7 separate regions of the Homo sapiens genome follow, and all the other regions are linked to region 1. The links are contacts of gene promoters, found by promoter capture Hi-C in blood cells and fetal thymus (Javierre and others, 2016). All regions are on one chromosome and are shown on one strand. The core of a region is centred on a gene start or on the middle of the fragment in contact, and the rest is flanking DNA. Distances in the headings are between cores, read along the strand shown. Region 1 holds the start of CDKN1C (cyclin dependent kinase inhibitor 1C). Region 2 holds the start of TH (tyrosine hydroxylase). Region 3 has its middle 38 kb from the start of MIR4686. Region 4 overlaps ASCL2 (achaete-scute family bHLH transcription factor 2). Region 5 has its middle 9.5 kb from the start of C11orf21. Region 6 overlaps CD81-AS1 (CD81 antisense RNA 1). Region 7 overlaps CD81-AS1 (CD81 antisense RNA 1).

Region 1 (3,924 bases), core at 1,082-3,581:
TTGCACCTAGACAGATGTTTGCTTGCTTCTGGGCCCATTGGGCCTCCTCTCAGAGCCTGGAACTCCCAGCCCCCAGCTCCTGGGGTGCCTTCCTCCAGGTGTGTCCCTGGCTTGGGCTGGGGGGACACAGCCCCGCTCCTGGGACGTGCAGGTTTAAAATGCTATTGGGTACCATCTTTGATCGAATTCAGAGTGACAGACTTAGAGCAGGTCACCTCTCAGCTTCTAACGAGGCCAAGACGGAGGAATCCCCACAGCACTGGGTTTGACTCTGTAATTAAGCTGGTAAAGTGGAAAAATAAAAGTAGGAAACCTAAGTGGAAACCAAACCAGAAAGCCAGGCAGCCCGGGAGTTCTGAGCCCTGCTTCCTTCCAGCTGTGCGGCCTCAGCGGCTGACGCGGTCTCTGCTGCTCTTCTATAACACAGGATGATGGCAGCTACACCCTCTGAGTGGTGTCACCAAGGCCAATGAGTCCTGATGGTTGGAGTGTGGGTATCCGGGGGCCTCTAGGTCACTACCCACTCTAGCCCTTTGCTCCTAGTCTCTGGGGAGGTGGCAGCATAGGGGCATGGAGCAGACTAGACTTTGCCTCTTTCTGCCCCCAGGCCAGTTGATATGAGCCCTGCTTGAGGGGTTCGCAGGGCCTGGGGAGCCTTCTTCAGCTTCTCTTTGTTTTCCTAAGATGAAAATTGTGACATCTGGGCTTGTTGCGGGAAATTTGTAAATTGTGCACAGAGAAGAATATGAAATTGCACATAAATCATGGCTTTTGGTTCCACCATCAAGAGCCAAGAATGGCCCTGGCCCCTCTCCTGGGTTAACGCCCTGTCCCATCCAGTTCACCCCCCTCACTTCAGATCTCGCTTCCCTGAGACCCAGAAGACCCGCCCTGCTCCCCCAGCTGCAGCTGCACACTGCCACAGCATTCCATGGGGGTGGGGGTGTCTTGGGACTCAAAGGCAGGCTGGTTGGGGTTCAGGGGACCGCACCTTCCCTCCCTCCCAGAGGTCTCTCTGCTGGCTCACAGGCTCACCTGAGATAGGGGCTTAGATCTCATGGGCTGCTGGACCCTCCAACAGGTGTCTGACAGTCCCCATCCCGATCTGGGAGGCTCCTGGTTTGAGGAGGGGGCTCCCTGCCTCATGGTAGGTGGGCCAAAAGGGAGGCAGCAGGAAATAATGGTCTCTTTTGGTCTGGCCTGGCTGGGGTGAAGCACCGTGTGTGTGCGTGCGTGTGTGTGTGTGTGTGTGTGTGCGTGCGCGCACGACCGAGGTCTGTACCAGGAAGGGCTGCAGGCGGGGGAGGGGCATGGTCCTTCACAGCCCCTTCCCCTATGACCTCGGGCAGATCTTTCACTTTTACCCAGTACAACAGCTTCCAGCCAGCCTGGACAGGCAGATCCCGGGGCTGGAGTGGTCTGGCCCAAGGCTGAGAAGGGCTGGGACCCCCGACAGTGACATGATGGGCTCAGCCCCTGTTCCATCTACTGGGCAGGGTGGGCCTCCGCAGATAGCGGCTTCAGACTCCAGCTCCAGGGGGCTGGTGGGAGTCTCTCAAGGTGTCCCACACATGGTCCCTCGGGGAAAGAGTGGAGCTGACCCCTGTCCCCCCTCCCGACTCGAGGGCCTTAGGGCCAGCAGGTGTGTGAGGGCTCCAGGCGCGCGGAGCCCTCGAAGGGACACCAGCCCAGCAGCAGCAGGCCGCGCGGGGGCAGCCGAAGACCCCATCCGGCGCAGGCCAGGGCCGAGCTGGCAGCGGCGGGTCCAAGCCTCGTCAGCTGGCGCAGGAGGCCCACGGGCGAGCGCGGGACGGAGCTGGGCGCCGGGGTCCGGACCGGGCCGGGGTCGAGTTGGGCCTGGCCGGACACCGGACCCGCCAGGAGCCGGCCCCTGCCGCGCTGGGCTGAGGCCCCCGCCTGCAGACAAAGGAGCCGGCGGGGGGCGGGAGCCGGGGGGGTGGGGGAGTGTTGCAGGGGGGATGGGGCGAGGGGGCGGGCGTCGCGGTGTCACGTTACCGCCCGCAGCGCCCTTTAACTCCCGCCCCCGCCCCGCTCACCGCCCCCTTCCCCTGCTACAGCGCGCTCGCCCCGCGGCCGCCAATCAGCCGCGCGCCCCGGCCGCGCGCCCCGCCCCGCCCCCGGTGGGTGTGCGCGCGGCCAATGGGCGGTGCGCGGGGGCCGGGCCGCGGCGGGGCGGGGCAGCGGGGCGGCCGCCAATCGCCGTGGTGTTGTTGAAACTGAAAATACTACATTATGCTAATCGCGGCCGGGCCCGCGCGCACGGGGGTGGGGCCCGCGCGTATAAAGGGGGCGCAGGCGGGCTGGGCGTTCCACAGGCCAAGTGCGCTGTGCTCGAGGGGTGCCGGCCAGGCCTGAGCGAGCGAGCTAGCCAGCAGGCATCGAGGGGGCGCGGCTGCCGTCCGGACGAGACAGGCGAACCCGACGCAGAAGAGTCCACCACCGGACAGCCAGGTAGCCGCCGCGTCCCTCGCACACGCAGAGTCGGGCGGCGCGGGGTCTCCCTTGCGCCCGGCCTCCGCCCTCTCCTCCTCTCCTTTCCCCTTCTTCTCGCTGTCCTCTCCTCTCTCGCTGCCCGCGTTTGCGCAGCCCCGGGCCATGTCCGACGCGTCCCTCCGCAGCACATCCACGATGGAGCGTCTTGTCGCCCGTGGGACCTTCCCAGTACTAGTGCGCACCAGCGCCTGCCGCAGCCTCTTCGGGCCGGTGGACCACGAGGAGCTGAGCCGCGAGCTGCAGGCCCGCCTGGCCGAGCTGAACGCCGAGGACCAGAACCGCTGGGATTACGACTTCCAGCAGGACATGCCGCTGCGGGGCCCTGGACGCCTGCAGTGGACCGAAGTGGACAGCGACTCGGTGCCCGCGTTCTACCGCGAGACGGTGCAGGTGGGGCGCTGCCGCCTGCTGCTGGCGCCGCGGCCCGTCGCGGTCGCGGTGGCTGTCAGCCCGCCCCTCGAGCCGGCCGCTGAGTCCCTCGACGGCCTCGAGGAGGCGCCGGAGCAGCTGCCTAGTGTCCCGGTCCCGGCCCCGGCGTCCACCCCGCCCCCAGTCCCGGTCCTGGCTCCAGCCCCGGCCCCGGCTCCGGCTCCGGTCGCGGCTCCGGTCGCGGCTCCGGTCGCGGTCGCGGTCCTGGCCCCGGCCCCGGCCCCGGCTCCGGCTCCGGCTCCGGCCCCGGCTCCAGTCGCGGCCCCGGCCCCAGCCCCGGCCCCGGCCCCGGCCCCGGCCCCCGCCCCGGCCCCGGCCCCGGACGCGGCGCCTCAAGAGAGCGCCGAGCAGGGCGCGAACCAGGGGCAGCGCGGCCAGGAGCCTCTCGCTGACCAGCTGCACTCGGGGATTTCGGGACGTCCCGCGGCCGGCACCGCGGCCGCCAGCGCCAACGGCGCGGCGATCAAGAAGCTGTCCGGGCCTCTGATCTCCGGTGAGCCCCGCACGGCCCCGCCCCGGCCCGGCCCGGCCCCGCTTTGTCCGGCCGGCCGGTCCCCCCAGCCCTCGGGGGCCTCGCTGGGTTCCCGCCTCCTCCCGTGGCATTAAAGGGCCCGCAGCGCTCAGGGCGCGGCTGCGCCCTTACCCCCCTCCCCGCCCCGTTGTTGTGCCCTCCAGCGGCTTCGCGCGGGCGGGGTGGGAGGCTGAATCCCGGCCGCGACCCCCCGGGAGCGCAGTTTTCGCCCCCGGCCGCGGGAGCCCCTCCCCGGGCGCGGCCGGGCGCCGTGAGCACGGCGTGGAGGGGGTTAAGCGCGGCGGCGGCCCCGGGGGGCTTGGCCGCGGGACAAGGGGAAATGCTTACACAGCACATTGCGCGGCGACGTAAACAAAGCTGACCCGCCGCGGACCTCGGCGCGGGCGGGGACGGCGCCCCCACCCCGGCCGGCCCGCGCCCCGCGCCCTCTCCCGGCCCCCTCTCGGGTC
Region 2 (3,924 bases), core at 520-3,019, 710 kb after region 1:
CAGAGGAGCGCAAGGGAGGGGCATTAATATCGTGGCAAGAAAGGGCAGGCATTGCAGAGTGAGCAGCGACGGAACTGGGTTTTGTGGGATGCATAGGAGTTCACCCGGATAAGAGGTGGGTGAGGAATGACACTGCAAACCGGGGATCACGGAGCCCCAAATCCTTCTGGGCCAGGAAGTGGGAAGGGTTGGGGGGTCTTCCCTTTGCTTTGACTGAGCACTCAGCCTGCCTGCAGAGGGCAGCGAGGAGCCACGGAGGGGTGTGGGACAGGGATGCCATGGCTGAAGCAGTTTTAGGAAAGGTCCCAGGGGCTATTGTTGAAGAGAGAACGGGGAGCGGGGAGTCCCACAGCTGACAGGAGCAGAGTGGGCCCTGAGAGATGCCAGCTCTGGCTGCCACAGTGACCAGCCGGGGTAGGCCTTCGAGAAGTCAGGGAGCGTCTAGGGCTTCTGGCTCCTGCTGGGCCCAGGGTGTCATCTTGGGCTGCCAACACCAGAAAGCCCAGCAGATACAGGAAGCCCCAAGCCCTGTCGGAAACGGTTCTTCTCCAGGAGGGACAGCGGTGGCAGCGTTCAGCCGCAGGCCATGCACTCTGGGGCCACGTCCTTCCCTCTGTACAGTCCAGCATTGTCAAGGCAGGCTCTGGCCATCTCTGCTGACCCCAGAGGGATGGGGAGGCCTCCCCTTCCACCAGAAGGGCCAGAAGCCACCCTGGGCAGGGGCATCACTCTCCCTGGGTGGGGCAGCGGCTGGGAGCAGGAGGTGCCAGTGGGCGTGGGCTGGATGCGGGTGCCTGCGGGGCGGACATGGAACTTGGGGGAGGCTCTAGGCTGGGGTTGTCCTCAAGGGAGTTCTCAGGTCACCCCAGGGTCACCCTCAACCCGGGGCCTGGTGGGGTAGAGGAGAAACTGCAAAGGTCTCTCCAAGGGGAAGGCATCAGGGCCCTCAGCACTGAGGGACGTGCGTGCTCTTTAAAGAAGGGGCCACAGGACCCCGAGGGAAGCCAGGAGCTAGCAGTGGGCCATAGAGGGGCTGAGTGGGGTGGGTGGAAGCCGTCCCTGGCCCTGGTCGCCCTGGCAACCCTGGTGGGGACTGTGATGCAGGAGGTGGCAGCCATTTGGAAACGCGTGGCGTCTCCTTAGAGATGTCTTCTTCAGCCTCCCAGGGTCCTCCACACTGGACAGGTGGGCCCTCCTGGGACATTCTGGACCCCACGGGGCGAGCTTGGGAAGCCGCTGCAAGGGCCACACCTGCAGGGCCCGGGGGCTGTGGGCAGATGGCACTCCTAGGAACCACGTCTATGAGACACACGGCCTGGAATCTTCTGGAGAAGCAAACAAATTGCCTCCTGACATCTGAGGCTGGAGGCTGGATTCCCCGTCTTGGGGCTTTCTGGGTCGGTCTGCCACGAGGTTCTGGTGTTCATTAAAAGTGTGCCCCTGGGCTGCCAGAAAGCCCCTCCCTGTGTGCTCTCTTGAGGGCTGTGGGGCCAAGGGGACCCTGGCTGTCTCAGCCCCCCGCAGAGCACGAGCCCCTGGTCCCCGCAAGCCCGCGGGCTGAGGATGATTCAGACAGGGCTGGGGAGTGAAGGCAATTAGATTCCACGGACGAGCCCTTTCTCCTGCGCCTCCCTCCTTCCTCACCCACCCCCGCCTCCATCAGGCACAGCAGGCAGGGGTGGGGGATGTAAGGAGGGGAAGGTGGGGGACCCAGAGGGGGCTTTGACGTCAGCTCAGCTTATAAGAGGCTGCTGGGCCAGGGCTGTGGAGACGGAGCCCGGACCTCCACACTGAGCCATGCCCACCCCCGACGCCACCACGCCACAGGCCAAGGGCTTCCGCAGGGCCGTGTCTGAGCTGGACGCCAAGCAGGCAGAGGCCATCATGGTAAGAGGGCAGGTAGGTGCCCGGCGGCCGCAGTGGACCGGAGCCCAGGGCTGGTGCCAGCTGCCTCTGCTACTCCCCAGCCTGGCTGGCAGCCCCAGGCTCAGGGTCCATGCAAACCCCTGGGACGCGGCGTGGATGTGGAGGCCTGGGCACAGCGGCATCCCCTGTGCCTGGTGTTTGAGTCCCTGTTGGGGGAGGGTGAGGTGATGCCTGTCCCTGTGTGTGCCCCTCTTAGGCCGACCTCTCTCGGGGGTCGTGTGGGTCTCTGTGTCTTGTTTCATCTTGAATCTTAACGATCGGAATGTGGAAACAAATCCATCCAAAAAATCCAAGATGGCCAGAGGTCCCCGGCTGCTGCACCCAGCCCCCACCCTACTCCCACCTGCCCCTGCCTCCCTCTGCCCCAGCTGCCCTAGTCAGCACCCCAACCAGCCTGCCTGCTTGGGGAGGCAGCCCCAAGGCCCTTCCCAGGCTCTAGCAGCAGCTCATGGTGGGGGGTCCTGGGCAAATAGGGGGCAAAATTCAAAGGGTATCTGGGCTCTGGGGTGATTCCCATTGGCCTGTTCCTCCCTTATTTCCCTCATTCATTCATTCATTCATTCATTCATTCACCATGGAGTCTGTGTTCCCTGTGACCTGCACTCGGAAGCCCTGTGTACAGGGGACTGTGTGGGCCAGGCTGGATAATCGGGAGCTTTTCAGCCCACAGGAGGGGTCTTCGGTGCCTCCTTGGGCACTCAGAACCTTGGGCTCCCTGGCACATTTAAAATGGGTTTTTATTTATGGACCTTGATTGAAATGTGGTGTGAGTTGTAGCAGTGTCATTTCCAGGTACCTTCTCAGGGACACAGGGCGCCCTCCCCCGTCCTCCCCCGCCCTCCCCTACCCTCCCCCACCAGGCTCCCCATCAGGCATCCCCTCCCCAGGGCGCCCCGGGGCCCAGCCTCACAGGCTCTCCGTGGCCTGGAACTGCAGCCCCAGCTGCATCCTACACCCCCACCCCAAGGGTAAGTAAGAGGGGACTCTGGGAGGGGCTTCTGCTGCTCCCCTTCATGTTCCACAACCCTGGAAGCTCAGGATGAAGCTGATTCTTCTCTTACAAGGGGCCCAGAGCCTTCTTGGGAGTTCAGCTCCAAGGGATGAGCCCCAGGTGTCTGCCAAGTCCCCCTCTGTCCAGGCCTGGGACGGCTCTGGGATCGAGGGGTCAGAGGCGCTGAGCCCAGGGAGAGACACCTGCGCCCAGAGCTATGACAAAGGGTGGAGGGATGACAAGGCAGCCAGGAGCGGGCGCCTGCGGGGTGGCACAGAGGGGCAGGGCCCGAGGACAGGTGTCCTGATGGGAGTGTGAGAAAGGGTCCCCTGTGCGGCAGCCAGGAGGGTAGGGGGGTTGTTCACTGGGGCCCTGTGGGGGCAGCTCCTTCCTGAGCTGCCGTTCCCTCCCCGGCAGCCGATGCCACTGTCCATCAAGACATCGCCCTCTTCCCATCACTAATCCAGTTAGCGCCTGGCCTGGGGATGAGTGACACAGCGTCTCTGTCTGTCTGCTCGCCACAGAGTGGGGAGCAGGCGAGCACCTTCCCAGCCCCCACTCCTCCCCCACCACCACTGCTTCTGACTGGGCTGCCCCCATCGGGAAGGGCGTGCAATGCCCGCAGGCACCTCGGCTAGCATCTGCCCCAGCAGGCACACAGTAGGCGCTCAAAAACGTGCTCTCATCCCCTGCCTCTGTGTGCCATCAGCGCTGCCCGACTGTGGGACCAGCTGTGGGTGGAGGTCCCCGGGTCTCAGCAGGTGGAGGAGGCATGGGTGCCCCTTGTCCCCACAGTCCCCGCGGTTCATTGGGCGCAGGCAGAGCCTCATCGAGGACGCCCGCAAGGAGCGGGAGGCGGCGGTGGCAGCAGCGGCCGCTGCAGTCCCCTCGGAGCCCGGGGACCCCCTGGAGGCTGTGGCCTTTGAGGAGAAGGAGGGGAAGGCCGTGCTAAACCTGCTCTTCTCCCCGAGGGCCACCAAGCCCTCGGCGCTGTCCCGAGCTGTGAA
Region 3 (3,924 bases), core at 522-3,021, 670 kb after region 1:
AGGCGGAAACCCTGTCACTGAGCGGTCACTCCCCGTCTCCACCACCCCCCTCCCTGGGCGGCCACCCATCTATTTTTGTCCCTATGGATTTGCCTATTCTGGACATTTCATATAAAGGGAGTCCATCACCACGCGGCGTTGTGTGCCCGGCCTCTTCCACCGAATGTGGCGTTGGTGAGGCCTGTCCATGCTGCAGCCTGCATCTGTCCATCATTCCTCGCATGGCCCAATAATGTTCCATTGTACAGGCAGACCACAGTGGGCTCGTCTTTTTTTTTTTTTTGAGACGGAGTGTCACTCTGTCGCCCAGGCTAGAGTGCAGTGGTGCGATCTCTGCTCACTGCAAGCTCCGCCTCCCGGGTTCACGCCATTCTCCTGCCTCAGCCTCCCCAGTAGCTGGGACTACAGGCGCCTGCCATCGCGCCTGGCTAATTTTTTGTATTTTTAGTAGAGACGGGGTTTCACCGTGTTAGCCAGGATGGTCTCGATCTCCTGACCTCGTGATCCACCCGCCTCGGCCTCCCAAAGTGCTGGGATTATAGGCGTGAGACACCATGCCCGGCCTGGGCTCGTCGTTTTCGTGGTTGGTGCATGCCGGGGTCGTTTCCACCTGTTGCCTCTGGTGAGTGATGCTGCCGGGAACATGGGTGTGCACGTGTCTGCCTGAGTCCCTGCTTTCACTTCTGGGGATAGACCTGGGGTGGGATTGCTGGTCACACGGTAGTGCTGGGGGTAACCGGCCTGCGTGGACCGGCCAGGGCATTTCCCATGGCAGCTGTGCTGCTGACGTCCCACAGCTGTGTGAGGCTTGCTCACGGGGCTCTAACTGCATGCCCACTCCTGGCCCGTGGGTCTGGAGTACACAGAGAGTGGCCGGCTCTCAAGCGTCTGAGCAGCTCCCACAGCCTGGGCGCCTGCCTGGTGTGGAGGGGTCGGGGCAGGTGTCTTGCTGGGGACTCCAGCAGCTTCCTCTGGACTTGTCTCCCGGCTCCAGGGTTGCTGGGAGGCTAGTTCTAAAACAGGGGAGAAGCCGTGTGCTCTCTCTGCCCACTGGGAGCCCCAGTGTAGGACGACTGTGCCCTTGTGGGGTGGGGGGAGCTGGTGCCCACACCACGCCAGGCAGCTCCCCCACCCTGGCCTCAGGCAGAGCTGCCATCCTTCTCCCCTTGGTTTAACCATTAACTGGTCGCCTGCGGTGCACCCGGAGACAATGGCGTGTTTGTTCAGCGCAGTCCGCAGGGGCCTGTGCAGGGTCTGGCACAGTCATCAAAGCTTTGCGATTAAGACTATTAGGGACGGGATTTGTGCAAACAAAGGGACAGGTGCAGGGGCCAGGCCAGCTGCTGGGGCCGGGTGCTCTGCTGGGAGGCCATAAACCTCCCTGGGCCATGGGGCCTCCCTTGCCTGCAGCCCGCTCACTGAGGCTTTGCTGTTTGCCCAGGCACAGAGGCCGGGCTGCACAGGGCAGTGTGTCCCCAGGGCATCCTGCTCCCCCCACCCCTTGGCTCCTGGGCTGCCTGGAACCTGGTTGGCTCAGGAGCTTTTTATCTACAGCTCCTCTGTCTATGTCCCCTTGGCAGGTCCTTTTTAACATGAGTCCTCCTCCAGTGAAGGAAAGGGTCATGCCAGGGCCTGCACCTAGGGCCTCCGTTCTCCAGTGGGTGTCTTTGCATGAAACGGCCTGGGCCCTGGCACTTGCCCCACCAGCGCTGCCTGCAACCTTGTCCCTGTACCTCGGGCCTCCACCACATCCCTGGACCTGCACGAAGGAGCCCTGAGCATGGAAGTCAGGGGAAGGGAGGTCTCGACATGAGCCCAGCCATGGCCAGAGTACTGAGCCCAGGGCCAGCAGCCTCGGCTGGCAGTGCAGGGTGATGGGTCTGTGGGCCGGGCTGCCCAGGGACCTCGGCCCTGGGGTCTGAGGGGCACCAATGCCTTTTGCAGGCCACCATTTCCCTTTCCACTTTCCAAATGTGATTGGACACAGGTGGATGCACCTGCCTGCCCAGCAGACAGCCCGGTTCTGACCCGTGTGGAGCTGCGTGGACTGGGCTCACCTGTGCCTTCTTGCATCAACCAGGTGTGGACCCTGACAAGGTGCCAGCCACTGTCCTCCAGGAGCTACCTCAGGGACACGCAGGGAGGGACTGGACAGACAGATGGAGCGCAGTCCTTGCTGCCCGGCCAAGCCCTTGTGGGCAGGGCAGACTCCTTCAAGATCATCAAATGAAAGCAGGCAAAAACCACGTCCTTTTGTGACCTAAGCTTGGAAGCAATGTTGTCACTTCTGCCTCATCCTATTGGTTAGAAGTGAGCCAGGAGGTCCTGTCCACATCCAAGGTGGGAGTCCCCGCAGGACGGGGCCTGGGAGGTGGGCCCATGGGCTCCAGAGGGGCTGGACCACAGCAAGAAGAACGAGGCCAACCTCCATGGGTAGCGCAGACCGGCTCAGGCCCTGCCCTTCCCGCCGGGGTCCCCTGTGACAGGACGCAAGGGCACAGCTGCGGAGCAGGGTGGGCTGTTAGAGCTGGGCAGAGGCCACAGTGGCCAGAGGGCTGGTGAGAGTGGCTCTCCTGCTGCCCTAGCCACTGGCTGAAGATCTGCCTGGGGAGGAGTGGGTTTGGGCGGCCGGGCCTAGGACCCCTTCATAGCTACCACTAATACTCATTCTCTGCTCCTGAGAAACCTCCTCCAGGGGCCTCTGGGGTCTTGGAGATGAGACAGAGGGACCTCAGGCAGGACAGACAAGAGACCCTGGTCTCGGGTGTCCACAGAGCGGGAGCCAGGCAGGCTGGGCGGAAGTCCTAGGCTTGGACCCTGTTACGGGACTTTCCCTGTCAGAATGGGCTCAGGAGGGAGTGAGTGCGTGGTCCTCAGGTGTGCAAGTGCCAAGGCTGGAGCCCACCCCCTGGGAAGCAGGGCCAGGGTGGCTGGGGCGGACTTGATCCCTGGAGAGGAGCGTGGGCAGCCAGGGCAGGGAGGAGGGCAGGCAGGAGGGAGGTCCAGGCCTGTGGGCCGACAGGGGGTGAGGAGGCAGTCTGGGGACCTGAGAGAAGGCCGAGTGGCTGTGGGGTGGGTGACCTGGGGCCCTGACTCTGCCTTACCCTTGGCCATGGGGCCACATTCATGCTCGGCCCCCGCCCAGCCTGGGCTGGGAAGGCATCAGCCTGGCCATGAGGCAAGGGGCCGGCCATGCCTGGGGCCAGAGGGGGTCCCCCAGCCCTTCGCCTTCTCTCCATCTCCTGAGTAGGGCCCCTGCCCTGCTCTGACAGGGTGGTCACCTTGCCCCGCTCCGTGCCCAGTCCTGAGCTGGCAGTGTCTCCAGCCTTTGCAGCGTGGCCCTGTCTGCCTCTGTGTGTGTCTGGGCTCCTCTCATTTGGCCGCCCTGCCCGTCTACACTGGTGCCCCCCCACCTGCACTGTCCACCGGGCCAGGCTCTGTCTCTGCCACCTGTTGGGTGCTTGCCAGACTCCGCCATCCTCTCCGCTCCCAGCTTGCGGCTTCTGCCTCCACTGGCCTGGGCCTGCCCTGCCGCCGCCTCCTTGTGCCCTGGCTGTCTGCTGCCCCCTCTGCTGCCCATTGGCCAGCCGCTGAGCTCCCTACCAGGAAGAAAAAGGGCCAGGCCATGCCGGACCAGGACTGGGCACAGCCTCCAGCACTCCAGGTGGACAGGCTGAGAAGCGCGGCGAGCGAGGCAGCCTGGGACGGGTGATTTCTGGAACATGGGGCCAGCCAGCCTTGGCGTGAGGTGTGGACAGCTGCCAGCTTCTTCTCAGGGCTGCTCACAGGCAGCGGGGGAGTGACCCCGTTTTCTGCTTGGCACCTGGCTTGCCATCCCGCTCTACCCCAGGGCACTCAGACCTCAAACTCCTCAGCTGCCTGGAACACCAGGGAAGCCCAGGCTATGTGAGCCTGTGCCCAGCA
Region 4 (3,924 bases), core at 390-2,889, 620 kb after region 1:
CGTAATAAAGATGACCTGGACCCCTGCCCCCACTATCTGGAGTTTTCCATGCTGGCCAAGATCTGGACACGAGCAGTCCCTGAGGGGCGGGGTCCCTGGCGTGAGGCCCCCGTGACAGCCCACCCTGGGGTGGGTTTGTGGGCACTGCTGCTCTGCTAGGGAGAAGCCTGTGTGGGGCACACCTCTTCAAGGGAGCGTGAACTTTATAAATAAATCAGTTCTGTTTACCAGTGGCTCCTATCACCTACACTTCCCAGGTGACGGCCAGACTTCCGTGGTCACTACTCCTCAAACCCTGCTGCCTCCTCCGTAGGGTGGGTCTGGGTGAGATCTGGAGTGCAGCCAGGCCGTTGATAGCGGAGCCATTGGGACACCTTGTGAGGCTGGGGGCATCCTCCAGGAGGTGGTGGGCTGGTGGGTTGTCCAGACAGGGCTACTCGCTGGCTTGGAAGCTGCAGGCTGGAGGCTGCTGACCCATCCCGAGGGCTGGGGTAAGTGCTGGGTGTGGGGCTAGGCTGAGGTGGTCTGACCAGAGAGCACCGGCTGTGGGGCTGAGGGCATGGGCTCCTGCGCAGGCCACCACGCTCAGATCTCCACTAACGTGGCAGCTGGGCAGCCCAGGGCAAGTGGGTTAACTTGCAAATGGGTTTGACCAGACCCACCTCAACGGCCTCTGGGAGGAGTTAGTGAGAGGTGCCTGGAGGCTGCCCTCTCGCTAGCTTTGGGTTTTGCCCGCACTGGGGAGGCCCTGCAGGTCTCCGCTCACCTGAATTCTAAGAGCGGCTCTTGAAAGGAACAAGGAAGGCTTGGAAGCTTTGCGCCAGGCTCCCCGCAGCCGGAGAGCTGGCACTGGGATATTACACGGCTATACCTTTGACTCAGGGCCTAGGAGGCTTTGATGTCTCACTGTACCGAAAGCTGCCTTTTAGTGTCCTGGTGGGGGAGGGGTTGTGGGGCTCCCCCGGTTTCTTTAGGGCGCAGAGGCACCCCTTCCTTCAGAAAGGAGTGGTTGGGACAGAGCCGTGGGAGCCCTGCGAGGTGGGAGCAGCTGGTGTTGTCCCAGAGTGGGTGGCTCCTGAATAACCACGGCAACAGGACACCCAGGCTACCGGGATGCCTGGGTCTCAAACGTCAGGCTGGCCAGGTCCCTTCTTATCAGAGGAGCTCAGGGCTCCTCTCTCGCCAGCTGCAGCCTCAGTCCAGGTGGGGGCTCCTCAGCAGCCAAGGTCAAAGCCGAGTCTGTAGCGGGGGTCAAAGGGGTCAGCTGGTCTGATGAGGACCAGGCTCAACTGGGGTCAGTGGACCAGCTGTGGCTTGGGGCTGCAGGGCTCAGGGAACTGGCCTTGGCCAAGGGACAGGAGGGGGCACATTGCCGTGGTCACCCAGGGAGGGACATCCCACAGGCTTCTCCCAGAATCCACACCCGGGTCGGTGGCCTCCCTGAGCCCTCCCCAGGACTCCACACCTTGACCTCAAGGAAAGGCCCACAGCTGCCAGGACCACAGGGGGCTGTTGGGTGGGTGAAGAGGGTAGGGGGGAAACGATGGAAGGCCAGGGCAGAGGAAACGACTGCCACCCACTGGCGTGAAGCGGACAAAACTCTGCAGAGGGTAAGTAGTGCTGCCATTTTTGTTTTCCCATTTTCCCATTTTTCATTTTATTATGGAAAATTTCAAACATACACAAAAGCACCGAGGCCTTTGTTGAGCAGTCTCTGTGCCAGGACTTAGGGTGCATCCGTGTGCCACACAAGCCCGTGCTCGTGGAGCCTGGGTCCTAGCAGTGGACACAGGATCCAACCGTTGTACAGTCTGGCCGGTGGAGGACGCACTGGGCTCCAGGGCAGCCCTGGGAAGCCTCCAGCACCAGTTTCAAGGCCCTTCCTGCCCCATCCATCCCCCACGCCATCCCTGCGTTGCTTTGAAGCAAATCCCAGACTTTGAATCCTTTCACCCGTCATGTTTCACGTGTGCCTCTAAAGGAAACCGCAAAAACATCACCCGCTCAAATGAACCACCGTTCTTTCATATCATCGGGGACCCAGCCAATGGCGCAGTCCTCAGGGGGTCTCGTGGTTTTGTGCAGTTGGCCTTATAGAATCGGGATCCGCCGCAGGTCCACACATCAAGTTTGCTTAATAGGTCTCTTAAGCGCCTTGTAAGCAATTTCCCTCCAGTGTCTTCATTGAAGAAGCGGAGATGTCTGTTCCGTTGAGCCCCCGTGTGCGTGGTGGTGTTGATGGCACCGTGCTGGGTGTTGTTATTGGGAGCCTGTCCCTGTATTTCCTGTAGGACAGGGTATGGGGTGCCAGAAGCGGACCTTTGATCAAGTTTGGGGTGGCCTGCAAATGGGGTTGACACCAGGCCCACCTAATGAGTGTGACAGAGATGCCAAGAAAGATCCGTTCCAGGGAGACAAGGGACTCCCTTTCCGAGTTTGCCTCGAGAACTACCCAGCAAGCTTGTGGAAACTTCCATAGACCTCACAGCGATCTAGGCCCAGGCTATCCCCTCGCCTTCACTGGGGCAGAATCGCGTCGTGGTCTAGTGGCTTCCCACCCGTTGCCACCTCCTTCCTGTGTATTTCCTTTCACACGGGCGTTTCCCCGAATGCAGTCCTTATCCAGTTCATCCCACTTGGCACCTGCTGCTCAGAGGATGTAGTGCTGCTGGACTGCATCTCCCAGGAGACAGGACTTGTAGCGACGATGTAACTTGCTGTCCCAGCGGGGACATTTTTGAGACTGGAAAGGGCTGTGGTTGATAACCAGGACCACAGGCGAGTCTCCTGGGCACAGTGGGCTGCTGATTGCCGTGTTATGAAGACCCCTCCCCACACTGTCATTCACCCAGTGCCCAGTAAAGATGAAGTGCCTGAAGTCACAGGCAAGCTGGTCCAACCCACCTTCTCTTGCTGTCGTTTTGTTTTAGGCTCTCAGCAGCCTAAAGTCATGGTTTTAGTTTCTGTCTCTAGTGATAAGCAGAAAAGAGGGATGAGGAAGGGACCCTGCTGGCTCAACCAGAAACAGAAACTAAGAATCCATGACTGTCTTCTCTCCCTTGGACTCAGCTTGAAAATGATGAGAATTGAGATTTAAGCCCTGGACTCTTTCACTTCCACATTCTTGCAATGTTCACGCCTTCCAGGAAGTGAGGCTGAGCCTGGCGGCTCCTTTGGGGACATGACATCCTTAGCAGTTCAGCATTTGAGATCAGTGAGCCTGGACAGAGCCTCACCTGGCCCAGGTGCCAGCCTGTCCTGGGCTCTGCTGTGGGGGCAGCAGGGCTCTGCTAGGAGCTCATGGTCCAGGCCTAGTCCCCACCTGGAAGTTAGAAACTGATTCCAGGGAGAAGGTGATCGTGATGTCATGTTCAAGGTGCTAAAATATAAAGCATTTTTCTTTCTTCTATAGTCAACCTCTTGACTTACTATTTTATACTTCTTATTTTATACTCACTATTTAATGCCATTCTGAGTAAGAAAGATTAGGAATTTAAGTGACTAGCGTGAATGTAGTTATCCATCTTTATATTATGTGATGCCAGTTTAAAATGCAAGCATAAGAGCATTTAACTTCTATGCGGAATCACTGGAATGACACAGTGTGTGTTTTGTCCTGGCACAGGCGTCTCTATTTCATTTGCTACTAGAACAGTGGAAACTGCACAAAAATGAAATCAGCTGATTTCACTCCTTGACGCAGGCTTGTTCCACCAGCACCCTCCACCTCCTGCTCGCTGATGGGCGAGGAAGGAGGGAAGGGACAAGTTCAAAGACAAAAGGCACTGTGGGTAGATCCATCAGCAAGAGACCTCGGCTAACACAGAGAAGTCGCACAAGTAAGAAAGGACATGACAGGTTCCCGGGTCCTGCACGTTTGTTAGAACACCACTGGCTTCCTGCTGCATCCTTAGCAAGTGCGGA
Region 5 (3,924 bases), core at 995-3,494, 590 kb after region 1:
CGGTGCTTTTGCCGAAACCACCTGTGGACTCTGGAGCGCCTCATTCGGCATTCTCACACTGCTGCTCAAGGAATTCACCACAGTTAATGGAGTAGGGCAAAGGCCCAATGCTTGTGACCTTGGAGGTCTTCCGTGGTCCTCCTCTCCCCGAAGCAGCTCACGAACAGGACCGTGGAATGGCCTTCGGGAGACTCACACGGCGCCTGCTGAGTGGGGACGCTTTGCAGAGAGGGCCGTGTCCTCCAGGAGGCGGTCCAGGCTCTGAATTAGAGTCAGTCTATGGAGCGGTTTCTCCTGCCGCCCAGACCTCACGGTTCTGGGAGTCCAGAAGGGGAAGTGGCAATGGCTTCTCTTCACCCTCATGACATTCTGCTGGTGATGTGTTTGCTCCCTGTCCCCACAACTCTAGGTCCTCTTGGTGTAGAAGTCTGAGTTCTCGAGGGAGGAGAGTTTCCCGCAGAGACACCAACGGCTCCACCAGACTGGAAGGTGAGATTGCACCAGGCCATTTTGGGATCCTCACTGCAGAGAATCAATAGGTAAAAAAGGCAGTTACTGCCCGGGCCACGGGACTGATTTTATCGGGCGGAATCGGCCGGGTTGCACAAGGAGGATGAGGAGGAGCACGTCTGGAATGCGGAGGGTCCCCTGCAGCGCCTCTTAAGGTTCCCATGTCCTGTGATTAAAATCATGGAAAACCATCACCCCTGATCCAAGCAGGGTCATTCAGGACCCAGGCTCTCCAGGAATGAAGGCTTAGGGCATCCCACCAGGCAAAGAGCCACATCAGCTGAGTGCTTGCGGAGGCGAAGGCTATGCGGGAGACGGAGGCTGAAACGCTAGTTCCCGCTGCTCGGCTGCTGCAGAAACGAAGCCTATCACAGGTGTGCGTGTTTCTTATTTTGATCCGAGTGTATTGGGTAGGACCACATTAGCCACTGTTTCTTCTCCTCTTCCATTCCCTACCACTTCATACGGTACTAGTGTATGAAGTGTACGTTTGATAGTAGTTGATATTTAATTATTTCAAACATCTCAGTGTTTAAATTTTAGGCTATCAGGCTGGGCACGGTGGCTCAGGCATGTAATCTTAGCACTTTGGGAGGCTGAGGCAGGCGAATCACCTGAGGTCAGGAGTTTGAGACCAGCCTGGCCAATGTGGTGAAACCCCGTCTCTACTAAAAATACAAAAATTAGCCGGGCGTGATGGCCCGTGCCTGTTATCCCAGCTATGTGAGAGGCTGAGGCAGGAGAATTGCTTGAACCCAGGAGGTGGAGGTTGCAGTGAGCCGAGATTGCACTACTGCACTCCAGCCTGGCTGACAGAGTCTGTCTCAAAAAAAAAAAAAAAAAAAAAAAAAAAAAATTAGGATATCAAAGGGAGAATGAGAATCAGCTGAATCCCATTCCAGCTGAATCCTATTCCCCCTTTGATTTTTTTTTTTTTTTTTTAAGGGGAAGAACACCCAGAGATGAATCAGGATCAGGGGCTCTCCTCTTCTCTGGGGGAGAGGGGGACATGCTGTTCTCTTGTATACGCTTGGCCACATCTTGTTGGGTGGAAGAGGGATTTGACTTTGTCTTTATTTGGAAGTTAAGTATGATTAAAAATTGTGGGTGGGGAATCAGAGGACCCCATTTGTATGAAATGTCCAGAACGTGCAACTCCATGGAGGTGGGAAGTGGGTCAGTGTTTGGCAGAGGCTGGGGCAAGGGGAGCGGCTGCTAGTGAGTGGGGAGTTGTTTTTGGGGGTGCTGCGGGTGGCACGCCTCTGTGAAAATACTAAAGCGGGGAGTTGTTTTTGGGGGTGCTGAGGGAGGCACGCCTCTGTGAATATACTAAAGCGGGGAGTTGTTTTTGGGGGTGCTGCGGGTGGCACGCCTCTGTGAATATACTGAAGTAGGGAGTTGTTTTTGGGGGTGCTGCGGGTGGCACGCCTCTGTGAATATACTGAAGCGGGGAGTTGTTTTTGGGGGTGCTGAGGGAGGCACGCCTCTGAATATACTAAAGCGGGGAGTTGTTTTTGGGGGTGCTGCGGGTGGCACGCCTCTGCGAATATACTAAAGCGGGGAGTTGTTTTTGGGGGTGCTGCGGGTGGCACGCCTCTGAATATACTAAAGCGGGGAGTTGTTTTTGGGGGTGCTGCGGGTGGCACGCCTCTGAATATACTAAAGCGGGGAGTTGTTTTTGGGGGTGCTGCGGGTGGCACGCCTCTGTGAATATACTAAAGCGGGGAGTTGTTTTTGGGGGTGCTGAGGGAGGCACGCCTCTGCGAATAAAGTGGGGAGTTGTTTTTGGGGGTGCTGCGGGTGGCACGCCTCTGTGAATAAAGCGGGGAGTTGTTTTTGGGGGTGCTGCGGGTGGCACGCCTCTGTGAATATACTGAAGCGGGGAGTTGTTTTTGGGGGTGCTGCGGGTGGCACGCCTCTGTGAATATACTAAAGCGGGGAGTTGTTTTTGGGGGTGCTGAGGGAGGCACGCCTCTGAATATACTAAAGCAGGGAGTTGTTTTTGGGGGTGCTGCGGGAGGCACGCCTCTGTGAATATACTGAAGCAGGGAGTTGTTTTTGGGGGTGCTGCGGGTGGCACGCCTCTGAATATACTAAAGCGGGGAGTTGTTTTTGGGGGTGCTGCGGGTGGCACGCCTCTGAATATACTAAAGCGGGGAGTTGTTTTTGGGGGTGCTGCGGGTGGCACGCCTCTGTGAATAAAGCGGGGAGTTGTTTTTGGGGGTGCTGCGGGAGGCACACCTCTGCGAATAAAGTGGGGAGTTGTTTTTGGGGGTGCTGCGGGTGGCACGCCTCTGTGAATAAAGCGGGGAGTTGTTTTTGGGGGTGCTGCGGGTGGCACGCCTCTGTGAATATACTGAAGCGGGGAGTTGTTTTTGGGGGTGCTGCGGGTGGCACGCCTCTGTGAATATACTAAAGCGGGGAGTTGTTTTTGGGGGTGCTGAGGGAGGCACGCCTCTGAATATACTAAAGCAGGGAGTTGTTTTTGGGGGTGCTGCGGGAGGCACGCCTCTGTGAATATACTGAAGCAGGGAGTTGTTTTTGGGGGTGCTGCGGGTGGCACGCCTCTGAATATACTAAAGCGGGGAGTTGTTTTTGGGGGTGCTGCGGGTGGCATGCCTCTGTGAATAAAGCGGGGAATTGTTTTTGGGGGTGCTGCGGGAGGCACACCTCTGCGAATATACTAAAGCGGGGAGTTGTTTTTGGGGGTGCTGCGGGAGGCACACCTCTGCGAATATACTAAAGCGGGGAGTTGTTTTTGGGGGTGCTGCGGGAGGCACGCCTCTGCGAATAAAGTGGGGAGTTGTTTTTGGGGGTGCTGCGGGTGGCACGCCTCTGCGAATATACTAAAGCGGGGAGTTGTTTTTGGGGGTGCTGAGGGAGGCATGCTTCTGTGAATATACTAAAAGCCCCTGAATGGTACAGTTAAAACAGTGAATTTTATAGTATGTGAATTATATTTCAATAAAGCTGTGTAGAAAACAAGAGGTACAGGTGGAAGCCCATGGGAGGGATTGGCACAGTGTCGCCCTAGCTGAGCGGGATGTTCATCTTCCAGGACTCCCGGAGCTGCCTTGTTAAGGGTAGGGTGGGTCACACGTGGCCTGAGCCAGCTCTGGGTGGTGGAGGGATGAGGCAGCCACGCTCTTTTTAAGCCTGGAAGTTTGCTCAACGCACCAGGGGCCCTTGCCGCTCTGCTGTGCACTGCAGTAGGTCTGGGCAGCAGTGGCATCCTCCTGGGAGTCTGGGCCCCAGCCAGCTGCCTGCCCTGCTGCCAGGCAGGAGGAAGTGGCATCCTGGATTCCACGCCATTCCTGGGAGTCCCCTGACTCTCAGGAGTCACCAGTGAGCTCCACGCTCCTGGGTCCAGCAGGCCCCCTCTGTCCTCACTCCAGCCCTCCAGGCATGGGGGGA
Region 6 (3,924 bases), core at 645-3,144, 560 kb after region 1:
GGATCACTCGCGGTTAGGGGCTGGAGACCGGCCCGGCCATCACAGCAAAATCCCGTCTCCACCAAAACCAGTCAGGCGTGGTGGCGCGTGCCTGCAATCGCAGGCACTCGGCAGGCTGAGGCAGGAGAATCAGGCAGGGAGGTTGCAGTGAGCCGAGATGGCAGCAGTACAGTCCAGCTTCGGCTCCGCATGAGAGGGAGACCGTGGGGAGAGGGAGAGGGAGACGGAGAGGGAGAAGGAGAGGGAGAGGGAGAGCGAAACCTTTTATTTTCTAGAGGGCCTCATCCCACCCACTGAAGGCCTGCATAGAACAAAATGGCTGAGTGGTGTCAGGGTTCTGAGCCCAAGCCTGCATGTATACATCCAGATGGCCTGAAGCAACTGAAGAACCACAAAAGAAGTGAAAGTAGACAGTTGCTGCCTTAACTGATGACATTCCACCATGGTGATTTGTTCCTGCCCCACCCTAACTAATCAATTGACCTTGTGAAATTCCTTCTCCTGGTCAATGAGTATCAGAAGGTCCCCACCGAGCACTTTGTAACCCCCCCGCCCCTGCCCACAAAAGAAAAACCCCCTTTAACTGTAATTTTCCACTACCTACCCAAATCCTATAAAACTGCCCCACCCCTATCTCCCTTTGCTGACTCCTTTTTTGGACCCAGTCTGCCTGCACCCAGGTGATTAAAAAGCTTCATTGCTCACACAAAACCTATTTGGTGGTCTCTTCACACAGAGGCGCGTGACAAATAAGAGGGAAGTCCTCTTACCTGGGTGAGCTGGGACATTGGTTTTTTCCTGTCTTCAAACTCAAACTGAAACATTGGCTCTCCTTGGGTCTTGAGCCTGCTGCCTTTCAGACGGGAGCTTACACCATCAGTCCTCCTGGGTCTCCAAGGTTCCCAACTACGGATCTTGGGACTGCTCAGCCTCTGTAATTGTGTGAGCCAAGTCCTTACAATAATCTCTCTCTGTGTGTATGTACACATCTTACTGACTCGGTTTCTCTGGAGAACCCTGACTGTTACTCAGCATCCTTGGACTTGTTCGAGTCTGACGTTGGCATGGGAGTTGGTTCCGGGGGAATTTACCTGCATGCTTGGAGCTGGATGTGCAGGGTTTAGACAAGACCACCTCATGTACATCTTCTCCAGCCCAATTCCTGTGTCCATCCCAGCTGGGACAAGCAACCCCACACCACGGCCCCTAGGCCCCTGACCTCCCCTGTCCAGTGAACTTCATCTGCCCCACTGTGCCCATCACCATCCCTGGGGTCTCTTTAATTTTGGGTTGCTTCCTCTCTGAGATTTAAAGTCCAAACCTTGCACCCCTTCCACACCTCCAGGCCCTGTGTGTTTGCTTTGCCCACCTGCTTTGCTGGGAGTGCTCTACGCAGCCGTACTGCATGCTTTCCTCACTGCACTTCTTTGCCTGCACAGCTGGGAACACCTGGTCCTTCACTTTAATCACACCCTTGCCAGTATCCTGAACTCCTATATAGTTGGAACAGCCTTTATTTATTTATTTATTTTGAGATGGAATCTGGCTCTGTCGCCCAGGCGGGAGCGTAGTGGTACGATCTCGGCTCACTGCAACCTCCACCTCCTGGGTTCAAGCAATTCTCCTGCCTCGGCCTCCTGAGTAGCTAGGACTATAGGCATGCACCACCACACCTGGCTAATTTTTGTATTTTTAATAGAGATGGGGTTTCATCATGTTGGCCAGGCTTGTCTCCAACTCCTGACTTCAAGTGATCCACCCGCCTCGATCCCCCTGTGTGCCCTTTCATTTTCTGCCATGTGAGGACACGGCAAGAAGGTCCTCTCAAGTAATCCCAAAGTGCTGGGATTACAGACATGAGCCACTGTGCCTGGCCAGGAACAGCCTTCAGATTGCCCTGGAGAGCTTTTTAGACGCAGATTGCTAGGCTCCACCCCAGCATCCTTAATTTGGGAGGCCTGGGCAGGGCCTGAGAATCTGCATTTCTACCGCATTCCCGGGTGATGCAGCTGGTCCAGGAACCATGCTTTGAAAGTAGGCTACGTTGCAGTTAACAAATACCCCCTGAGGTCTCGGGGTTATTTTTCACTTGCATATGGTGGTCAAGTGACTCTTCATCTTTGAGCTGACTTTGGGAACGTGTGTCCTGTAAGGTCACCTTGGAAAGGGAAGGGCGATTGGGAAGTAGCTTACGTTGCTTCCTCCCATATCCCACAGGTCAGAACTCGGTCACATGACCCTCATGCAACCACACTAACCATAGAGGTGACTGGGAAATGCAGTCTTTCCATTTGCCTAGGAGGAAGAAACAGTGTGGTGAACACATGGTATCGTCTGTTCCGCCATCCACCCCTCTGTTGACCTGCCAAAGTCCACCCAGTCACTACACCCTCTCCAGACCCAGCATCTCCGATGGATGAGCACATCAGGTTTGGATATGCCCTCTCTTGGTCCAGCACCCTATGAATTTAAACATTGAGTTATCTGTCCCCCTATGCTAGATTGTATCTGTGACCCCAGTCTCTCGCCCTTTCCTGTGCCCGAGGCCAGCCACGACTTGCTGTCTTGGGAATGCACCCAGCCAAGATCAGTCAAGCAGAGCCCAGACACATAAGCAGGAAAAGCTGACTGTTGTGCACCACGGAGACTGTGTAGATACGTGTTAATTTGCGTTTCTTCTTATGGCAGCACCCTCCTTCACAGAGCCTGCTTCTGTATTAGTCAGGACAGGCCAGGCTGTATTGTGGTAGCAGTCGGAACCCCCAAACCCAGCTGCTGCCAAGAGAGCAGGCACCGGGGGCCCGAGTGATGGGGACTTGGTGGAGCTGGAGCAGCAAACTTGCTAAAATCACTCCTGGTGACCTGGCAGGCTGAATACAAGAAGGCTCAGCCAGGAGCATAAGGGGCGAAGTGGGAAAACACCACATTGCGAGTTTTGTGTTAGGTCCCGCAACACGAGACGGAGACCAGCTTGAGAAAGAAGGCCCAGCTTACAAGCAGAGATGAAAGTGAACAGAGAGATGGATCCAGAAATTCAGAGCACCGCAAGGGCAGAAAAACCAACTGCTCCAAGAGTTAGGATTTTAACAAGCTTTGGGAGACAAAGGCCCAATAAAATGCCTGACTTGGACCGATCAACAGAAGACAAAGATGGGATTAAGGCCCATTCAAGTCTGAGAGCCTTCTGACAGCTGCCATTGAGTTGATGGAGAGGAATGAGAGCAAATACATCCTGAAACTTCAGTTTTCTGTGTGCATTAGTCATGGCTTACTGTGGTCTGAATATTTGTGTCCCTCCAAAATTCATGTTGAAAAGTCCCCAACGCAACGGTAGTGAGAGGTGGGGCCTTTGGAAGGCGATGAGGCCGTGGGGGCTCCGCCCTCCTGGGTGGGATCAGTGCTTTAGAAAAGGGCGAGGAATGAGCTCGGTGCCTGTGTGCCCTTTCCCTTTCTGCCATGTGAGGACGCGGCAAGAAGGTCCTCTCGAGACATCACCTGCAGTGCAGGATTCCCAGCCTCTGGAACTGTGAGCAATCAATTTCTATGACGTATAAATGACCTATTCTATGGTGCTTTGTTACAGCAGCACAAACAGGCTAAGACAGACATTGCTACCAGGAAGCGGGGCTGTTGCTGTAACAAACACCTGAAAATGTGGCAGCAGAGCCGGAACCGGGTCACGGGAGAGGCTGGAAACGTTTTGAAGTGCACGCTGGAAAAGCACACACTCCTGCGAACGGAGTTGGTGCTAAGGTGACTCCAGTGCAGGCCGAGGAGGGCAGGGCTGTAGAGAGAGCCTCTGGGCTGGTAGCAATGATCTCAGTGGTCGTGATCAGAATGCTGGTGGAGATCCACACAGTCAAAGCCATTCTCGTGAGGTCTTAGACAGACATGAGAACTATCTTATTAGAAACTGGGGGAGGG
Region 7 (3,924 bases), core at 364-2,863, 520 kb after region 1:
CTGCCTATTTACTGTCTCCAGCTGGGGCTCCCCTTTGCTGATGGGGTCCCCTCTCCAGGGTGTCTCCCCTCCACTGAGGGTCTCCTCTCCCTGGACCAAGTGACCCCTGTCTGCATTTGCAGGTTGGGGACAGGTGGGGCTGGCTGGCACCTGTCATTGATTTATTAATAAATCAATAATTTTGGGGGTGGCTGCCTGCTGGAGGTGGGATGGGTGGTGGAGGAGTCACCTTCACTCTTGTCTAAACCCATGAGTTTTTGTTCAACACTGGGATGGGGAAAGCAGCTTGTTAGGACCCTGTTCCCTGAGGAGGGATGGGTGAGGCTGTTGGGGTGAGGCTGTCTGTCAGCCGTGACCAGAGCTGGCTGAGCTACCCTAGGCTTCATGTCCCCAGGTGCAGCATAGCCATGGGACGCCCAGGGGCCTCTGATCCCCTTCCTACAAGCTGTGTGTAGTTTAAAGGGGCTGGGAGTGCAGAAGAGGACGCGGGCCTGCTTTTCCACACTGGCTCCGTTCCCTTCGTGCGGGTGCCAGCCAGGCCCGGCCTTTTCTGGCCAGGGTCACCGTGTCCTGGACCCAGCCCTGACCCCTCCATTCCCTACCGTGTTGTCACCATCCCCTGTGAGGAGGGACCCCTGAGGCCTCTTTCTCCCGCTCTAGAGGCTCTTCCGGACCCCTGATCCTCACAGCCTGGGCCTCCCCAGAGGCTTCTGGGGCCACTGGTTCCCCGTACAAGCTGATACCAGCCGTTAATGACATTGCCTTGTTTACTTCAGCATGAGCTGGGCCACAGAGGGGAAGCTGTGTTGCTGAAGGGGACTCTGAAGATTACCATTGGAGGGGCTGCCTGGCTGAGACCTGAATAAGTGAGCAGTGCCCAAGAACAGAAAGGGGAGGTTGTCAGATGCTGGCCAGCACTGCCTAGCCCCAACCTGCAGACACAGATAGGGCGGAGGGGTCACCCAACCCAGGAAGGGGAGCTCATCTATGGAGGGGAGCCCCCCTGGAGTAGGGACCCCATCAGAGGACCCCGTCAGCAGAGGGGAGCCCACCCGGAGAGGGGACCCTATCAACAGAGAGGAGACCTAGCTGGAGAGGGGACCCTGTCAGCAGAGAGCAGCCTCACCTGGAGAAGGGACTTCATCAGCCAAGGGAGCCCCAGATGGAAAGGAGACCCTGTCAGTGGAGAGGAGCCCCAGCTGAAGAGGGGACCCCATCAGTGGAGGGAGCCCAAGCTGAAGAGGGGACCACATCAGTGGAGGGAGCCCCAGCTGGAGAGGGGACCCCATCAGTGGAGAGAGCCACAGCTGTAGAGGGAACCCCATCAGTGGAGGGAGCCCCAGCTGGAGAGGGGACCCCATCAGCAGAGGGAAGCCACAGCTGGAGAGGGGAACCCATCAGCAGAGGGGAGCCCACAGGGGTATCCAGAGGGAAGGCCAGGTTGGGTATCCTGGGAGTGGGAAGTTGGGTCAGAGGTGAGGCTTTTGCAGCGAGCAAGCTTGTTTCAGGTTGGGAGTGCCCAGCGGGCAGTGGGGGTTGGTGGACGCAGCAGGGAGGAAGTTCCAGGGTCTTTGACAGCGGCTGCTCCCCACTGCAGAGCTGACAATCTCTTGAGGACTCCAAGAATGAACGGATGGCCAAGCCTGGGCCTCCAGTGGGAACAGCGCCACCGTGGAAGAGGAGGGAGGTTGTCCTCATGTAGGGGGCAGGCTGGAGAGACAAGCTTGGGGTGGATGATGGTTTGCTTCTTAGGTGAAGGAAAATGAAGAGCCACCTGCAGCCATCGCTCTGCTCTCCAAATCAATCCTGAATAACTGGGAGAGAAAAACTTAAAAATGAGACCAGTGAATGGAATGGGAGGTGGGATGGGGATGTGGCAGAAGAGGGGGCCGCCCCACTCCTGTTGGACGTGGGGGCACTGGGAGCCACATGCATGCCAGGGACGCCCAGCCCCTGGCCCTGGGCCAGCCTCACTGGCAGTGGCTGGGGACAGTGGGTCTCTGTGCCTCCTCCTCGTCTCTGCGGTCCCTGGCTGGGTGCCCACCCTCTCCCTCATCTCGCCGTCTGCCTTCCTTTCATTTCTTTTTGGCATGGTTCTCTCACTGTCCAGGAAGGAACTTGGCGTCTTGCACCCCAGGCGGGCAGAGCCAGGAGCCCAGCTGACCCAGAAGGGCTCGGGTGGAGTGGGTGGGTGGTGGGAAAGCAGCTGGAGCCCCCGAATGCAGAGCCTGCCCCGTCTGCCGTGCCTGGAGGGCACCCCTCACTCCTCAGGCTCTCCAGAAGGTCAGCTATGGGGGCAGGGTCTGGGCCCATTCTGGACCCTGCTGTATCCCAGGGACCATTTAAATGGGGGCCTGGCACAGACTAGGGGTTCAGTTGTTAAATGAATAAGCAAAGCTCAAAGCCCCCTATGTTCCTTGCCTGAGCCAAGAAGGAAGCCTGGGCCTGGCTTCTGAGTCCACCCACCCTCCTTGTGAGGTAGGAAGGCAGTGGCATTGCATAACTGACCACCTACAGGACCGGGCCACGCCGAGAGGGAGCAGGCGCCTTGATGCTCCTAGATCGTCGGCCAGACTCCCCCTCCCCAGTCCTTGGAGCCTCCTTGCTTCTTCAACCCCTGTCAGAGTCCGTGGGGCAAGGTGAGACTGGGAACACTGTCTCCTCCCCCAGACGTGGCTGATCTCAGCCTGGAGCCCCACCCCAGGGCTGCACAGGACCAGGGTCCAGATCATCAGCCCAGGATGCACGGTGGACTATGTGTGCCCAGCACTCGTGCACCGAGAGACCCGTCTTGTTTCCCATGAGCCCCTCGGTGCTGGGTGCCGGGTGAGAGCATAGCCCTGGTGATCCTGGTGGTCTTCTCCAGACTCTGATGTTTCCTTCCAGTCTCCCGGCCCTCCCCTCAATGTGCAGTGTGTGCGGGTTGAGGGGGCTGCTGTGGTCTGAATGTGTCCCCCATCTCTGTAATCATGATGGACTAACATCATTGTCGTGGGAGCGGGCTCTGACAGAAGGATGAGTTTGGTCCCCTTCTCTCTGGCTGTCTCTCTCTCCCTCTCTTTGCCCTTCTGTCATGGGATAAGGCAGCACAAAGACCCTTGCCAGAGGTGGCCTGTCGATCTCGGACCTCCCAGCCTCTAGGACCAGGGGCCAATAAGTTAGCCAGTCTGTGGTTTTCTGTTCTAACAGCACACGATGGACTAAGACCACAGGCCAAGTCTCCCCAGTGTATCACCATTAGGCCACACCCTGATACGGTTTGGATCTGTGTACCTGCCTAAATCTCATGTTGAATTGTAATCCCCAATGCTGGAGGTGGGGCCTGCTGGAGGTGATTGGCTCATGGGGGTGGATTTCCCCCCAGTGCTGTTCTCGTGATAGTGAGTTCTCATGAGACCTGCTTGTTTAAAGGCATATGGCACCTCCCCTCTCTCCCTCTGGGCTTCCTCCTGCTCCGGCCACGTGAAGTGCCAGCTCCTCCTTTGCCTTCCGCCATGATTGTAAGTTTCCTGAGCCCGCCCCCAGAAGCCATGTGGATGCCAGCACCATGCTTTCTGTACAGCCTGGGGAACTGTAAGCCAAGTAAACCTCCTTTCTTTATGAATTACGCAGTCTCAAGTATTCTTTATACAGTGCAAGAACGGACGAGTACACCCACTTTGTCTAATCCAATCACACTCTGCATGACTCTCCATCAAACTCCACATAAAAATACACGGGTTTCCCTCTTCCCTTGGGTCCTCATTTCTTTTTCCTTTTCTTTTTCTTTTTTTTTTTTTTTTTGAGACGGAGTTTCACTCTGTCACCCTGGCTGAAGTGTAATGGCGTGATCTCGGCTCACTGCAACCTCCACCTCCCGGGTTCAAGCAAGTCTCCTGCCTCAGCCACCCCGGTAGCTGGGACTGCAGGCACATGCCACCATGC

Evidence for each region. The method cuts DNA at HindIII sites, captures the fragments that hold promoters and counts their contacts. A CHiCAGO score of 5 or more calls a contact.
Region 2: the fragment with the promoter of TH here is called in contact with the fragment with the promoter of CDKN1C in region 1 in 4 of 17 cell types (total B cells, naive B cells, M0 macrophages and 1 more); the score reaches 7.6 in total B cells.
Region 3: a fragment that was not itself captured here is called in contact with the fragment with the promoter of CDKN1C in region 1 in 1 of 17 cell types (naive B cells); the score reaches 6.1 in naive B cells.
Region 4: a contact is called between a fragment that was not itself captured here and the fragment with the promoter of CDKN1C in region 1, in 1 of 17 cell types (M0 macrophages). The highest score is 5.2, in M0 macrophages.
Region 5: a contact is called between a fragment that was not itself captured here and the fragment with the promoter of CDKN1C in region 1, in 1 of 17 cell types (total B cells). The highest score is 5.4, in total B cells.
Region 6: a contact is called between a fragment that was not itself captured here and the fragment with the promoter of CDKN1C in region 1, in 1 of 17 cell types (M1 macrophages). The highest score is 5.2, in M1 macrophages.
Region 7: a contact is called between a fragment that was not itself captured here and the fragment with the promoter of CDKN1C in region 1, in 2 of 17 cell types (naive B cells and total CD4 T cells). The highest score is 6.0, in naive B cells.

Annotation. Positions count from the first base shown.
Region 1 is chr11:2,884,182-2,888,105 of GRCh38, reverse strand. It overlaps CDKN1C (cyclin dependent kinase inhibitor 1C), which reads left to right and starts at 2,331. Exons shown (of 4, transcript NM_001122630.2): 1 at 2,331-2,472; 2 at 2,640-3,436. The coding sequence starts at 2,650. It overlaps SLC67A1-AS (SLC67A1 antisense RNA), which reads left to right. Exons shown (of 3, transcript NR_169305.1): 3 at 1-762. RefSeq lists enhancers at 834-1,669, 1,670-2,505, 2,506-3,341. The HindIII fragment of the contact is 9,568 bases long and covers 1-3,924 here.
Region 2 is chr11:2,169,660-2,173,583 of GRCh38, reverse strand. It overlaps TH (tyrosine hydroxylase), which reads left to right and starts at 1,769. Exons shown (of 13, transcript NM_000360.4): 1 at 1,769-1,887; 2 at 3,713-3,924. The coding sequence starts at 1,798. It overlaps MIR4686 (microRNA 4686), which reads right to left and starts at 521; the gene lies at 446-521. The HindIII fragment of the contact is 9,589 bases long and covers 1-3,924 here.
Region 3 is chr11:2,208,625-2,212,548 of GRCh38, reverse strand. No RefSeq gene overlaps it. Among named protein-coding and RNA genes, the nearest start is that of MIR4686, 38 kb to the right of the region's middle. RefSeq lists an enhancer at 1-136. The HindIII fragment of the contact is 993 bases long and covers 1,275-2,267 here.
Region 4 is chr11:2,264,801-2,268,724 of GRCh38, reverse strand. It overlaps ASCL2 (achaete-scute family bHLH transcription factor 2), which reads left to right. Exons shown (of 2, transcript NM_005170.3): 2 at 1-227. Among named protein-coding and RNA genes, the nearest start is that of ASCL2, 3.8 kb to the left of the region's middle. The HindIII fragment of the contact is 1,647 bases long and covers 816-2,462 here.
Region 5 is chr11:2,290,485-2,294,408 of GRCh38, reverse strand. No RefSeq gene overlaps it. Among named protein-coding and RNA genes, the nearest start is that of C11orf21, 9.5 kb to the left of the region's middle. The HindIII fragment of the contact is 7,512 bases long and covers 1-3,924 here.
Region 6 is chr11:2,328,068-2,331,991 of GRCh38, reverse strand. CD81-AS1 (CD81 antisense RNA 1) reads left to right here. Exons shown (of 3, transcript NR_108080.1): 2 at 2,218-2,429; 3 at 2,689-3,243. Among named protein-coding and RNA genes, the nearest start is that of TSPAN32, 28 kb to the right of the region's middle. RefSeq lists an enhancer at 2,912-3,413. The HindIII fragment of the contact is 2,399 bases long and covers 695-3,093 here.
Region 7 is chr11:2,364,577-2,368,500 of GRCh38, reverse strand. The region is part of intron 1 of CD81-AS1 (CD81 antisense RNA 1); the gene reads left to right. Among named protein-coding and RNA genes, the nearest start is that of CD81, 11 kb to the left of the region's middle. The HindIII fragment of the contact is 225 bases long and covers 1,501-1,725 here.